Regions from separate parts of the Homo sapiens genome. Here region 2 is linked to region 1. Evidence: promoter capture Hi-C in 16 types of primary human blood cells and fetal thymus (Javierre and others, 2016). All regions are on one chromosome and are shown on one strand. The core of a region is centred on a gene start or on the middle of the fragment in contact, and the rest is flanking DNA. Distances in the headings are between cores, read along the strand shown. Region 1 holds the start of SLC25A2 (solute carrier family 25 member 2). Region 2 holds the start of PCDHGB4 (protocadherin gamma subfamily B, 4).

Evidence for each region. Contacts are between HindIII fragments. The CHiCAGO score rates a contact against its expected background, and 5 or more counts as called.
Region 2: the fragment with the promoter of PCDHGB4 here is called in contact with the fragment with the promoter of SLC25A2 in region 1 in 1 of 17 cell types (M1 macrophages); the score reaches 6.6 in M1 macrophages.

Annotation. Positions count from the first base shown.
Region 1 is chr5:141,300,274-141,306,185 of GRCh38, reverse strand. It overlaps SLC25A2 (solute carrier family 25 member 2), which reads left to right and starts at 2,137. Exons shown (of 1, transcript NM_031947.4): 1 at 2,137-3,551. The coding sequence starts at 2,321. The coding sequence ends at 3,226. RefSeq lists a silencer at 5,208-5,502. The HindIII fragment of the contact is 3,271 bases long and covers 1,650-4,920 here.
Region 2 is chr5:141,385,182-141,391,093 of GRCh38, reverse strand. PCDHGB4 (protocadherin gamma subfamily B, 4) reads right to left here and starts at 3,396. Exons shown (of 4, transcript NM_003736.4): 1 at 813-3,396. The coding sequence starts at 3,209. All of the region lies in intron 1 of PCDHGA1 (protocadherin gamma subfamily A, 1), which reads right to left. The region is part of intron 1 of PCDHGA2 (protocadherin gamma subfamily A, 2); the gene reads right to left. All of the region lies in intron 1 of PCDHGA3 (protocadherin gamma subfamily A, 3), which reads right to left. It also overlaps PCDHGB1, PCDHGA4, PCDHGB2, PCDHGA5, PCDHGB3 and PCDHGA6, and 2 more genes. The HindIII fragment of the contact is 3,088 bases long and covers 597-3,684 here.

The sequences.
Region 1 (5,912 bases), core at 888-3,387:
TCAAGTTTCTTAGCAATGCAGTATATAAATACTATCCATTTTCCAAGTTGATTTTATAGTGCCGTGTTCTATCTTCAGAAATGATAAGGACTCCACGTTCCACCAGTTCCCAGGGCTGCAACCCCAGATCCTTGGGGATGTTGCCATGTGATAGCATTTCTCCAGCTCTGCAGGAAAGCAGTAGCACATCTCCAGGGCTAAGGATTCCCACAGTGCCCTACTCCCCTCCTTGCCCCCCAGGAAAGTGAGGAGCGTGGGCAGATCGCTGAGGGTTTTCTGATCAAAAGCAGTCACTGTCTCTCATGTAGCAACCCTCAGATCGTTTCGTTACCGGACAGGGGTCCCGATCCAGACCCAAGAGATTGTTCTTGGATCTCATGCAAGAAATAATTTGGGGCAAGTTCATAGAGTCAAGTGAAAGCAAGTTTATTAGAGAAGTAAAGAAGCAAAAGAATGGCTACTCCATAGGCACAGCAGTGGCCTGGGCGGCTTGACTAAGGATACTTACAGTTTTTTATTGAATGTAAGCTAAACAAGGGGTGGATTATTCATGAGGTTTCTGGGAAAGGGGTCCAAAGTTACCGGAACTGAGGATTCCTCCCCCTTTTTAGACCACATAGGGTCACTTCTTATTGTTGCCATGGCATCTGTAAGTGGACACGGCGCTGGTGGGCGTGTCTTTTAGCATGCTAATGCATTATAATTGGCGTATAATGAGCAGTAAGGACGACCAGAGGTCACTTATTATGCCATCTTGATTCTGGTGGGATTTGGCTGGCTTCTTTACTGAAACCTGTTTTATCAGCAAGGTCTTTGTGACCCGTATCTTGTGCCGGCCTCCTATCTCATCCTGTGACTTAGAATGCCTGTCTTCCTGGGAATGCAGTCCAGTAGGTCTCGGCCTTATTTTACTCAGTCCCTAGTCAAGATGGAGTTGCTGTGGTTCCAGCGCCTCTGACAGTTTGTCTTCTCTACTTTATTTTTTGTAGGGGGTAAGGGGTGTCTCATTTTGCTGCCCAAGCTAGCCTTGAACTCCTAGGCTCAAATGAGCCTCCCTCCGCAGCCTCTCCAAGTGTTGGGATTACAGGCATGAGCCACCACACCTGGCCTGTCTTATCTACTTTAAAGCAGTTTTCTTGTAGATTGACCCTCTGAATTCAGGGTCTATTCAAGTGAGGGCATCTTCTTTTCGGGTTGTTTGTTTTTGTTTTTTGCATGGTAAGAAGCGTGGGATAGGCCGGGTGTGGTGGTTCATGCTTGTAAGCCCCAACACTTTGGGAGGCCAGTGGGTGGATTGCTTGAGTTCAGGAGTTCGAGACTAGCCTGGGCAACATGGCGAAACCCCGTCTGTACAATACAAAATTTAGCCAGATGTGGTGGCTTGCGCCTGTAGTCCCTCTAGTCTCAGCTACTCAGGAGGCTGAGGTGAGAGGATCGCCTGAGGCCAGGAGATTGGGGCTGCAGTGAGCCAGGATCGCGCCACTGAACTCCAGCTTAGGCGGCCGAGTGAGACCCTAAGTCAAAAAAAAAAAAAAGAGAGAAAAGAAAAGAAGCAGGGCTGACTGATTAGGACAGCATTTCTTTTGCCGCCAGCTGAACTGCGGCGTCTAGAGTTCCCGGCCATAATTGCAAGAATTTATCGAAAAGCTTTACATGTTTTCTTGGTTTTGGTTTTGTTTTGAGACAGAGCCTCACCCTTTCGCCCACCCTGGAGTGCAGTGTGCGATCATAGCTCACTGCAGCATCGACCTCCCGGGTTCAAGCGATCCTCGCTTCATTCTCCTGAATTGCTGGGACCACAGGCGCGCGCCATCGCGCCCGGGTATTTTTTCGTTTTTGTAGAAATGGAGTCTTGCCATATTGCCCAGGCTGGTCTCGATCTCCTGGGCTCAAGCGATCCTCCCGCCTCGGCCTCCCAAAGTGCTGGGATACAGGAGTGAGCCACCGCGCCCAGTCGCAGTACACTAAAAGTATTTATTCGGTCCGCGTCCCCCGCCTGCGGGTGCAGGGATGGCGGCTCCAGGCTGGAGGCGGCTGGGGGCCCGGCCAGTGCGCCAGGAGCCGCAGGAACGCTAGTGAGCCGCGCGCTGGGCCGGCAGCTGGGGGTTATTTTAGTGCGCGGGGAGGGGGCGGCCCGCGGCGGAGCGTAGGGTTGAGCGGCTTCCCCCGCACTGGGGTGAGAGCCCAGAACAGGCGGTAGAGCCACCCCACCACCCCCAACTCCATTCCCCGCGCTCGCTGCGGCTGGACGTGAAAAGCCGGTCTCACGCTCTGGGGAGTTAGTCGCCTTCCACTGGGACCCTCAGACGAGTGAGCGAACATGAAGTCCGGTCCTGGCATCCAAGCCGCCATCGACCTCACAGCGGGGGCCGCAGGGGGGACAGCGTGTGTACTGACTGGGCAGCCCTTCGACACAATAAAAGTGAAGATGCAGACGTTCCCTGACCTGTACAAGGGCCTCACCGACTGCTTCCTGAAGACATACGCTCAAGTGGGTCTCCGGGGCTTCTACAAGGGCACCGGCCCGGCACTTATGGCCTACGTCGCCGAAAACTCGGTCCTCTTCATGTGCTACGGGTTCTGCCAGCAGTTTGTCAGGAAAGTGGCTGGAATGGACAAGCAGGCAAAGCTGAGTGATCTCCAGACTGCAGCCGCGGGGTCCTTCGCCTCTGCATTTGCTGCACTGGCTCTCTGCCCCACTGAGCTTGTGAAGTGCCGGCTACAGACCATGTATGAAATGGAGATGTCAGGGAAGATAGCAAAAAGCCATAATACAATTTGGTCTGTCGTGAAGGGTATCCTTAAAAAGGATGGCCCCTTGGGCTTCTACCATGGACTCTCGAGTACTCTACTTCAAGAAGTACCGGGTTATTTCTTTTTCTTTGGTGGCTATGAACTGAGCCGATCGTTTTTTGCGTCAGGGAGATCAAAAGATGAACTAGGCCCTGTCCATTTGATGTTAAGTGGTGGAGTTGCTGGAATTTGCCTGTGGCTTGTCGTGTTCCCAGTGGATTGTATTAAATCCAGAATTCAAGTTCTTTCCATGTATGGGAAACAGGCAGGATTTATTGGTACCCTCTTAAGTGTTGTGAGAAATGAAGGAATAGTAGCCTTATATTCTGGACTGAAAGCTACTATGATTCGAGCAATCCCTGCCAATGGGGCACTGTTTGTGGCCTACGAATACAGCAGGAAGATGATGATGAAACAGTTGGAAGCATACTGAAGTGTCTTGGTGAACCTGGATCCGAGTCCATGAGTTTGAGGACTACAGTTCATCACAGGGTTCAGCAGAGTACAAGACCACTGTCTAATTTTGACTTCATGGGAATTTTGGTTTTATCTTCCCTTCTTCTACCCTAAATCTTAACTTTATGGAAGGGCCTCTATTTTACATCATATAATTTCTGCCCATAATTGTATTGAAATAGGAAAGTTGCTGCTCTTGCACTTGCTGGAATGTACAGGGTGGGCTGGTTGGCCCTATGTACCTAATCTGAAAAACTAAATATCGTTCTGTCAGGGCCTTTGCATAAAGCCATTTGTGTGTACATGCAGTTTGGATGATTCTATGTCGTGAGTGAAACAATTTAGTTCTATATATAATCTCAAATATCAGCCCCCCAAACCCAGAATTGACCATATTTTGTGAAGATAGGTATGAATGATTACTTAGGATCACTCTCTCTTTTTTTCTTTTTTTTTGGAGACAGAGTCTCACTCTGTCGCCCAGGCTGGAGTGCTGTGGCATGATCTTGGCTCACTGCAACCTCTGCCTGCCTGGTTCAAGCGATTCTCCTGCCTCAGCCTCCCGAGTTGCTGGGATTACAGGTGCCCGCCACCATGCCCAGCTAATTTTTGTATTTTTAGTAGGGATGGGGTTTCACCATGTTAGCCAGGCTGGTCTCGAACTCCTGACCTCAGGTGATCCACCCAGCTCAGCCTCCCAAAGTGATGGGATTATAGGCATGAGACACCGCACCCGGCCAGGATCTCTTTTAAAGTCTGCTTAACATGCGCACTACATTAGGCGGTTCAAGTTTTGAAACATCTTCATGTGGTGCTTGATACCAAAATACTCCTCTCTCTCTCTCTCTCTCATATATATATATATATGAGAAAAAGTATATATATATATATACTTTTTTTTTTTGAGATGCAGTCTCACTCTTGTTGCCCAGGCTGGAGTGCAGTGGCACGATCTTGGCTCACTGCAACCTCCGCCTCCTGGGTTCAAGTGATTCTTCTACCTCAGCCTCCCAAGTAGCTGGGACTACAGGTGCACGCCACCACACCCGGCTAACTTTTGTGTTTTTAGTAGAGATGGGGCTTTGCCATGTTGGCCAGGCTCGTCATGAACTCCTAACCTCAGGTGATCCACCCGCCTAGGCCTCCCAAAGTTCTGGGATCACAGGTGTGAGCCGCTGCGCCTGGCCTCATCTATATTTTTAAGAGGAGAAGGTACCTGCATACCAGTGTGGCTTTGACATTCTTGAGTTAAAAGTTTCAGAGTAAGCATTGTGGATTTTCCCAAGAAACAATACCCTTAATATAGTGTTATCCATTTTCAAAGTGGGATTATATTCTGCACTCTGCCTATATGGTTAGGGATGATCTAGAGTATCATCAGGCCTTGGGGAATCCACACAGCCTTCCTGCGCCAGCTTCCGTTCTCCCCCTCAAACGAGCTGGGCTTTAGTTCGAGGAAGGAGCTGTGCACCTCTGCTTTGATGAAGACCCATGTGGCTGATAACAGTTCTTAGCTTCCAGTCTCTGGGTCCTGGCCTGGGTAGGACTCAAGGGTGTTCTATCGGCCCATTTAGAGGTTGTTGATTCATTTTGGGTCACTCACTGTCCTTTCTGCCTCCATCAGCCAGAAACCTTCCTGGGGAACAGAAAGTGACAAAGCTAAGAGAAGCTTTTGTTCCCTATTTGCTAATAATACTTGTGGGTAAAAGTCATCTACTCTCAGATAGAACTAGACAGAACTTAGTGCTTTTGCTCCACAATGAGTCATGTTAGGGACAACCCTTTCTTGAAGTTTACCTTGGGGTCCATAATACCTTCCCATGCCTTTACAGTGCTAGAGTCTTCTAAATTTGGTACTGTTCATCAGTAAATTTTAATGATAACTACGTATGGGGTGTGACTAAGGAATGAAACAGAAGAAAAGTAATTTTATTGAACTATATACCATATGTATGTATATGTACACTGTCAAAACCCCTCCAAAACAAAGAAAAACCCCCAACCCCAAAACGTAGTTCATTTATCTGATCCCCACAGACTTGGAGATAAGCAACTGTTCTTTGGCCATGTCATTCTTGTCACCACTAAAGTAAGCCCCATCATTCTGTGTTGCTCCAAGACCACCAGCAGGGTCTCTTTCAGTATCAAGTTTTCTTAAGCAGCCTCTAAAGCTGAAAAGAAGCAGGCTACCAGTCTTAATAATAGTCTGTACCATGTGGGTTTATTATTTGACAGAATGTAATTCCTGTGGGAAACTTTGTTTCCTTAAGCTTTTTGCTATCTATGAAATCTCTGTGGTAACTCTAGCCTTAGTGTCAGAAGCAAGATGGTCAGGGAAATGAGATACTGACCAGTAAGGGTTGCTGCGGACATTTAGGGGAGGGGAGGCTCAGTGTCAGGCCTGGTGTGCCCCAGAGCTATGGCTGATCTTCCATTTATTTACTTTTACTTTAAAAGAAAATCATGTTTATACTTTAAAGTTATTTATAGATTTAAGTTATATATTCCATACTTAAATGGTCAGTAGCTATGGAGTGGTGCTTCATCGGAGCAGGCCTGTATTAAATATAAAACGGGACTGGCGTTTAACAGGAAGTGGATCATTTCAGAGTCCACCGTCCCGCTGCCTGGCACCCATGAGGTAGTCTAAGTTAGCTTTGTTG
Region 2 (5,912 bases), core at 2,147-4,646, 84 kb before region 1:
GCAGATAAGGCAGTTACACATTATATATTAGGGCTGTGTGTGAGAGGGACAACAGACACAAAACATTGTCTTTTCTTTGATGAAGGATATAGAATGAGCTTGAATACAGATTAATCCTGAAACTCCTATGTTACAAGTAAGGAGAATCTGCTTTTGATCTTCTAATGAGCATAGTAGACCTTTTTCTAAGTAAAAGGATCTCTCTCACACACACACACACACACACGCACACACAGCGTACACTGCATATAATCACAAGGGGTCCATGGACATAAAAATCCAGTTGACTCCTTATTCTAAGAGCTTTTGAAACAAAAGGGAAGTTAACACAGGAAACAAAACAGTGGACTACTATGGAGACCATACCAGTTAAATTAGTTAAGAAAAGTGTTGAATTTTAGCTTAAATTCTTTGGCTTTATTATTTTTATATTTATGGTATATCCAAGCTGAAAAAAGTATTCATCATATATTAGTCAACAAGAAGGAAAATGTATAGGAAAAATCTCATTCACTTTTTAGGAGAGAGCCAACAACTGTCTAACACTTTCACTTTGTGGTTAAAACCACACCCTCATTGCTTTATAAATCTAAGCTTGGCTAAAAAACAAACAAATGTTGGGCCACACAATTGCTCCTACTTTACTCCTCCTTTGTAGAATGATATGACAGCTTTTTAACTGACTACAACTTTCCTAAAATGATCCATGACATCTAAAAATTATATATTTTCCTGCAAATATGTATATTTTCTTGTGAATATGGAGAAATGGGTAGGCAATGAGCATTAAATTATACTTAAAGGAAACTCACCTGATGGGAAGTCAATTCACTGGAATTACAAAGTGGAAATAAGGCCCCAGATGAATCACCGCAAAGTATGTCTTGTCCTGAACTCAACTGCTCACTACATTTTAGGAAATTAAACTCCGTCTTTCCTGTATGTGCAACACATAGATTGTAGGAATAAGGCAAAGTCCCCTCGCTGTAGTTGGGGGGAACCACGGATTCGGATTTAACACAGAGACCAGGCTGGAAGCAGCTCCAGGAGGCGGGGCTGGAGGAGCGTCGCAGGCGCAAGGCAATGGCCAGAATCATGGCCACGAGGAAGAGCACTGAGATCAAGGCCAAGGCCACCACTAGGTAAAACTGCAGCTCAGCCTGGAGGTCAGAGGGGTCGGGGCGGTCAGTGATATCCGGCAGCACCTCCTGCAAGCTGTCGGCGAAGACCAGGTGCAACGTGGCAGTGGCCGAGAGTGGTGGCTGTCCACCGTCACGCACGGCGACCAGAAGGCGCTGGCGGACGGCGTCCCTGTCGCCTAAGGCACGCGCTGTGCGCACTTCGCCCGTGCGCAGCCCCAGGCTGAAGAGCCCGGGCTCGCTAGCCTGCAGCACGTGGTAGGACAGCCAGGCGTTGTGTCCTGAGTCTGCGTCCACCGCCACTACCTTGGTCACCAAGTAGCCAGGCTCTGCAGCGTGCGGCACCATATCGAAGAGCGCAGAGCCGTCGGGACCCAGCGCGGGGTACAGCACCCGTGGCGCATTGTCGTTGCGGTCGTCCACTAACACGCGCAGGCTCACGTTCGCGCTGAGCGCTGGCGAGCCCTGGTCGCGGGCCTGCAGTGTGAGTTCGAAGGCGCGCAGCTGCTCGTGGTCGAAGGCGCGCTGCGCGAACACCACCCCGCTCTCCGCGCTTATGGACACGTAGGATGACAGCTCCCGCTGCTCCAGGTCACTGGCCATGATGCAGTAAGAGACTTGGCCGTTGGGCCCCAAGTCCGGATCAGAAGCCCTGACTTGTGAAATAGAGGCTCCAGGCGGGTTGTTCTCGGCCACGTGGACTATATAGGAAGACTGTGAGAAAACCGGAGCGTTGTCATTTACATCACCAATGTGCAGGGTGATGCTGGAACTGGAGGAGAGGGGAGGCTTGCCCCGATCTGTTGCCGTAACGGTTATATTGTACTCTGGATTCTGCTCGCGGTCTAGAACAGCATCTGTCACTAATTTATACGTGTTTCTTGAAGAAGTTAATATTTTAAATGGAACATCACCTTCCAATTTACAAGTCACTTCTCCATTGTGTCTGGAATCCTTGTCACGGACTTTGAGCAAAGCAATATGTGTTCCCAGCTCGGCGTCCTCCATAATTAGGTTGGGTAGAGACTGGAATATCACTTCTGGGGCGTTGTCATTTTCATCTATGACTTCTACCTCCACTGTGCATTGCGCAATCATTCCTCCACCGTCCCTTGCTTCCAAAACTATGGAATATTCTTTGACTTCTTCAAAATCTAATGTATTTAAAACAGTAATTTCCCCGGTGTTAGAGTTCAGGTCAAATTGGGTGATCTGGCTAGCTTCACTGAAAGAGAAAGTAATCTCGGCATTGACACCCTCATCCTGGTCCGTGGCAGTCACCTGTAGCACCGTGGTCCCCGGGTACACGTTTTCTGAAAGGCTCACCCTGTATACGTCTTGACTGAACACTGGAGCATTATCATTGGCATCAGTCACTAGAACGTGTATCTGTGCAGTGCTGCTTAGGGGTGGAGCTCCAAAGTCCAAGGCAGTCAAAGTCAAGTGGTAGGATTTCTGCTTTTCTCTGTCCAAAGGTGTCTTCAATACCATCTCAGGGTATTTACTGCCATCTGATTTCTCTTTATTTATCAGTGAGAAATGATCACTGGGACTGAGTTGGTAATTCTGCAGTGTGTTGCTACCAATATCCGCATCATGGGCAGATCCTAATATAAATCGTGTGCCAGGCTGTGCAGACTCACTTATTTGCAGCTCAAAGGAATTTTGCGTGAATTTTGGCGTGTGGTCATTAATGTCCTCGATCTCCACATTCACGTGATAAAAGTTCAGTGGATTTTCAGCAACAGCCTCAAATTCCAGAGCACAAGCTGGCTTCTTCCCGCATATCTCCTCCCTGTCTAGCCTGCTGCTCACAAGCAACTCCCCGCTCTCTGCGCTCACGGTGAAGTAAGGCTTCTCCGAACTGACGCGCAGTTTTCGAGTCGGTAACTCCTGGACGCTGAACCCCAGGTCCGTGGCGAGGTTCCCCACTACGGAGCCCTTGGGCATTTCCTCGGGAATCCTGTAGCGGATCTGCTCACAGAGCGCCGGGCAGAACAAAGACAGCAGGAAGAGAAAGAGCACTGGCAGCCTCTCAGCCCGGCCCAGCTCCCCGGCGCCGCTCCCCATCCCTCTTGCTCTCCTCAGCTTGCTCACCAGCCTGGAGACGCCGGGTTACAAATAACCTCTGTATTGCAGATTTTTGGATCTCCGAACGGACTTTAGTTGCAGTTCCAGTTCAAGAAAAAATTCTTCTTTTTCCGAGGAGGAAGCGGTGTAAAGGCTGGCGCTGGGGAGTCTGAGCTGGGGCTGCCCTGGAAAGCGCGCTGCGGCTGCGCGAGGAGATCTGGAGCGCCAAGCTCTCCACTTTGGCCAACAGCGGCGCCCAGAGTCAGCACTAGGAAACTACAGCCTCTGCTGCTTCAAGTTAACCAGTGCAATAATTATAATTGTGTGCCTAACTGAAAGAACAAAAACTACGTGGATACGTCTGTATATTTAATGACGTCTAAAAATGTACTCTTAGGAATGCCTTCATCCCAACTTTGAGGATTTTTAGGCAAATCATGTAGATTAAGTACATAAACATTTATTGACATAAGCTTTCCCCAATCTTCAAACATGCACTATCTATATAAAGATAGCCATAACACAGACTTGGCCTAAACCGTCTCAGAGTACAGTAATTTTCCATACTTACTCATTAGAAATATACTGGATACATTTTATCTTTCTTTCATTGTTCCTAACATTTTCTCCACTTTTCTAAGTACCTCCAAGTTGATTTATTTCAACTTTTTCCGGAGAGTATCAGTAATACCAAAATTGCCTTTTAGAAGGTGCAATTTATACTTATCTTCAAATACACCCCCTTCCCAATAGTTTCAGTGATTTCATTACAGGAATATTATGTGATTCTCATTTCGATGATCACAGGCAGTAGCCTACTCCTCTCCTCATTACACAATTATTTTACTGGTTATGAAATACAACATTCATCTTCAAAGTTATCAGGGGGATAATACATAGCCTCAAAACACAAAGTCACTGAGATCTGCTGCACTGAAGCACTGCTTCCTACCTCTGCACTTATTTTACATTCCTTGGTGACCTCTGAATTGAAGGAAACAATCCCTGGAAAGTTTGATTGCAATAGCTCACTGAGTTTAGTGATTATGTCTCTCCATTGCTTAAAAACAATTTTATGCATCTAATAAATTTTGGTCAGGAGATTTTCTTTTACAAAATACCTTATAACCGTAGTTCTGCCATAGGATCTTCCCTCAGTAACATTGTTGGTGTCAGCAACATTGTCTTCTACCCCAAGTGATTGTACATCTGAAATGTGAACACTGCAGAACTTGTAAAATGTATCCAGCCTGGGTGACAGAGCGAGACTCCATGTCAAAAAAAAAAAATGTATCCCCCACACTATTGTACAGAGTCTATCATGTGCAAAATACTACCAAATACAACACTAGTCTAAAAAGAGTCTTTTTTTGAAGAGACAGAGTCTTGTTATATTATCTAGGTGGGCCTCCAATTCTTGGGTTCAAGCTGTCCTCTTGCCTCAGCCTCCCATGCAGGTGGGCTACAGCTTGCAACACCATACCTGGCTAAAAGTGTGTTTTTAATTAATACTCAAAGGTCTCTGGAATCAAGATTACCTTGTCATCCACCCCTTCTGGATGACAATCACTTGATATACTGAGCTTTACTAAAATGTTATACAAAAGAATATGGAAGTAGTTAATCCCAGATTGGGTTATTTCCAACTGAATTTTTCAGTAGACCTAATAAATAAAATCAACTACTGGTCTAGGATCTGTGTACATAAGATGGTCTAAGGTTTGAGTACGTGAGACAGTTGAAACAAAGCCAGTATCCCCAATCTCCCACTTTGATAGCCCACAGACACACTTCATCTGGCTGTACCACTAAAACAACATACTGGAATTCTCTGTTAAAACATGTAATTGCCTATGTCACAAATGCCAATTACAACACTTAAAATGACATTTTATTTGACATATTTTATTGGTTTTGTCCGATGGCCTTTAGTGTGGCATTAGACTTGATGTCTGTCTTTGATATAGATCTTAGTGAAGTGTGATACACACACATTTCATTCTTTAGGCATAAATCCAACCTTCTACTACCACCCCATTAATAAATGATTATACTGTAAATAGGTCAAGAAGCAATCAAGATTTTTTAGGACCACCAAGCTGAGGTACATGGAGGCAGAATCAGCCACAGAAAAAAATCTTCACATGGAAGAAATCTTTCAGAACCTTTTACATATTTGAATGCTAAAGAGAATCCTGAGAAGACAGCTGAGGTGTGTTTTATTCCTGCTAACCTTGTGCAATATGAAAGACTCGATTCATTCCAATGTATAAAATATATGAGTTAAGAAAGTAGGTTGGAACATAGATTGGAAAGTAGGTGGAAATTATAAAATGTGATAGTCCACATATTCATAATCTTGTCCATAGGCTTTCACTAAAGAAATACTATATCCTATGTGTTCTATATTAAAGTGTCACCACTGAAGGAAACTGGTAAACTCATTTTTACCTCTATAAAGTTTTTTAAATCCCTATTTTCAAAACATTTGTTTTGCAAAATAATAGAGAAATATCATGCAAATAAATTCCTCATGGAAATAAAGGAAGGGCTGGGCTCACCTGAATACTTGGCAGGTTTTCTTTACATTCCTGAAAATCTACGGATGTTAGCAAAGAATCATTTTTCTCACAGCTCTCCTGGCTGATGAGCATGTCTACATAGTTGGGCTGGGGGAAGATCAGGTGACTCTTCCGAGAGTCC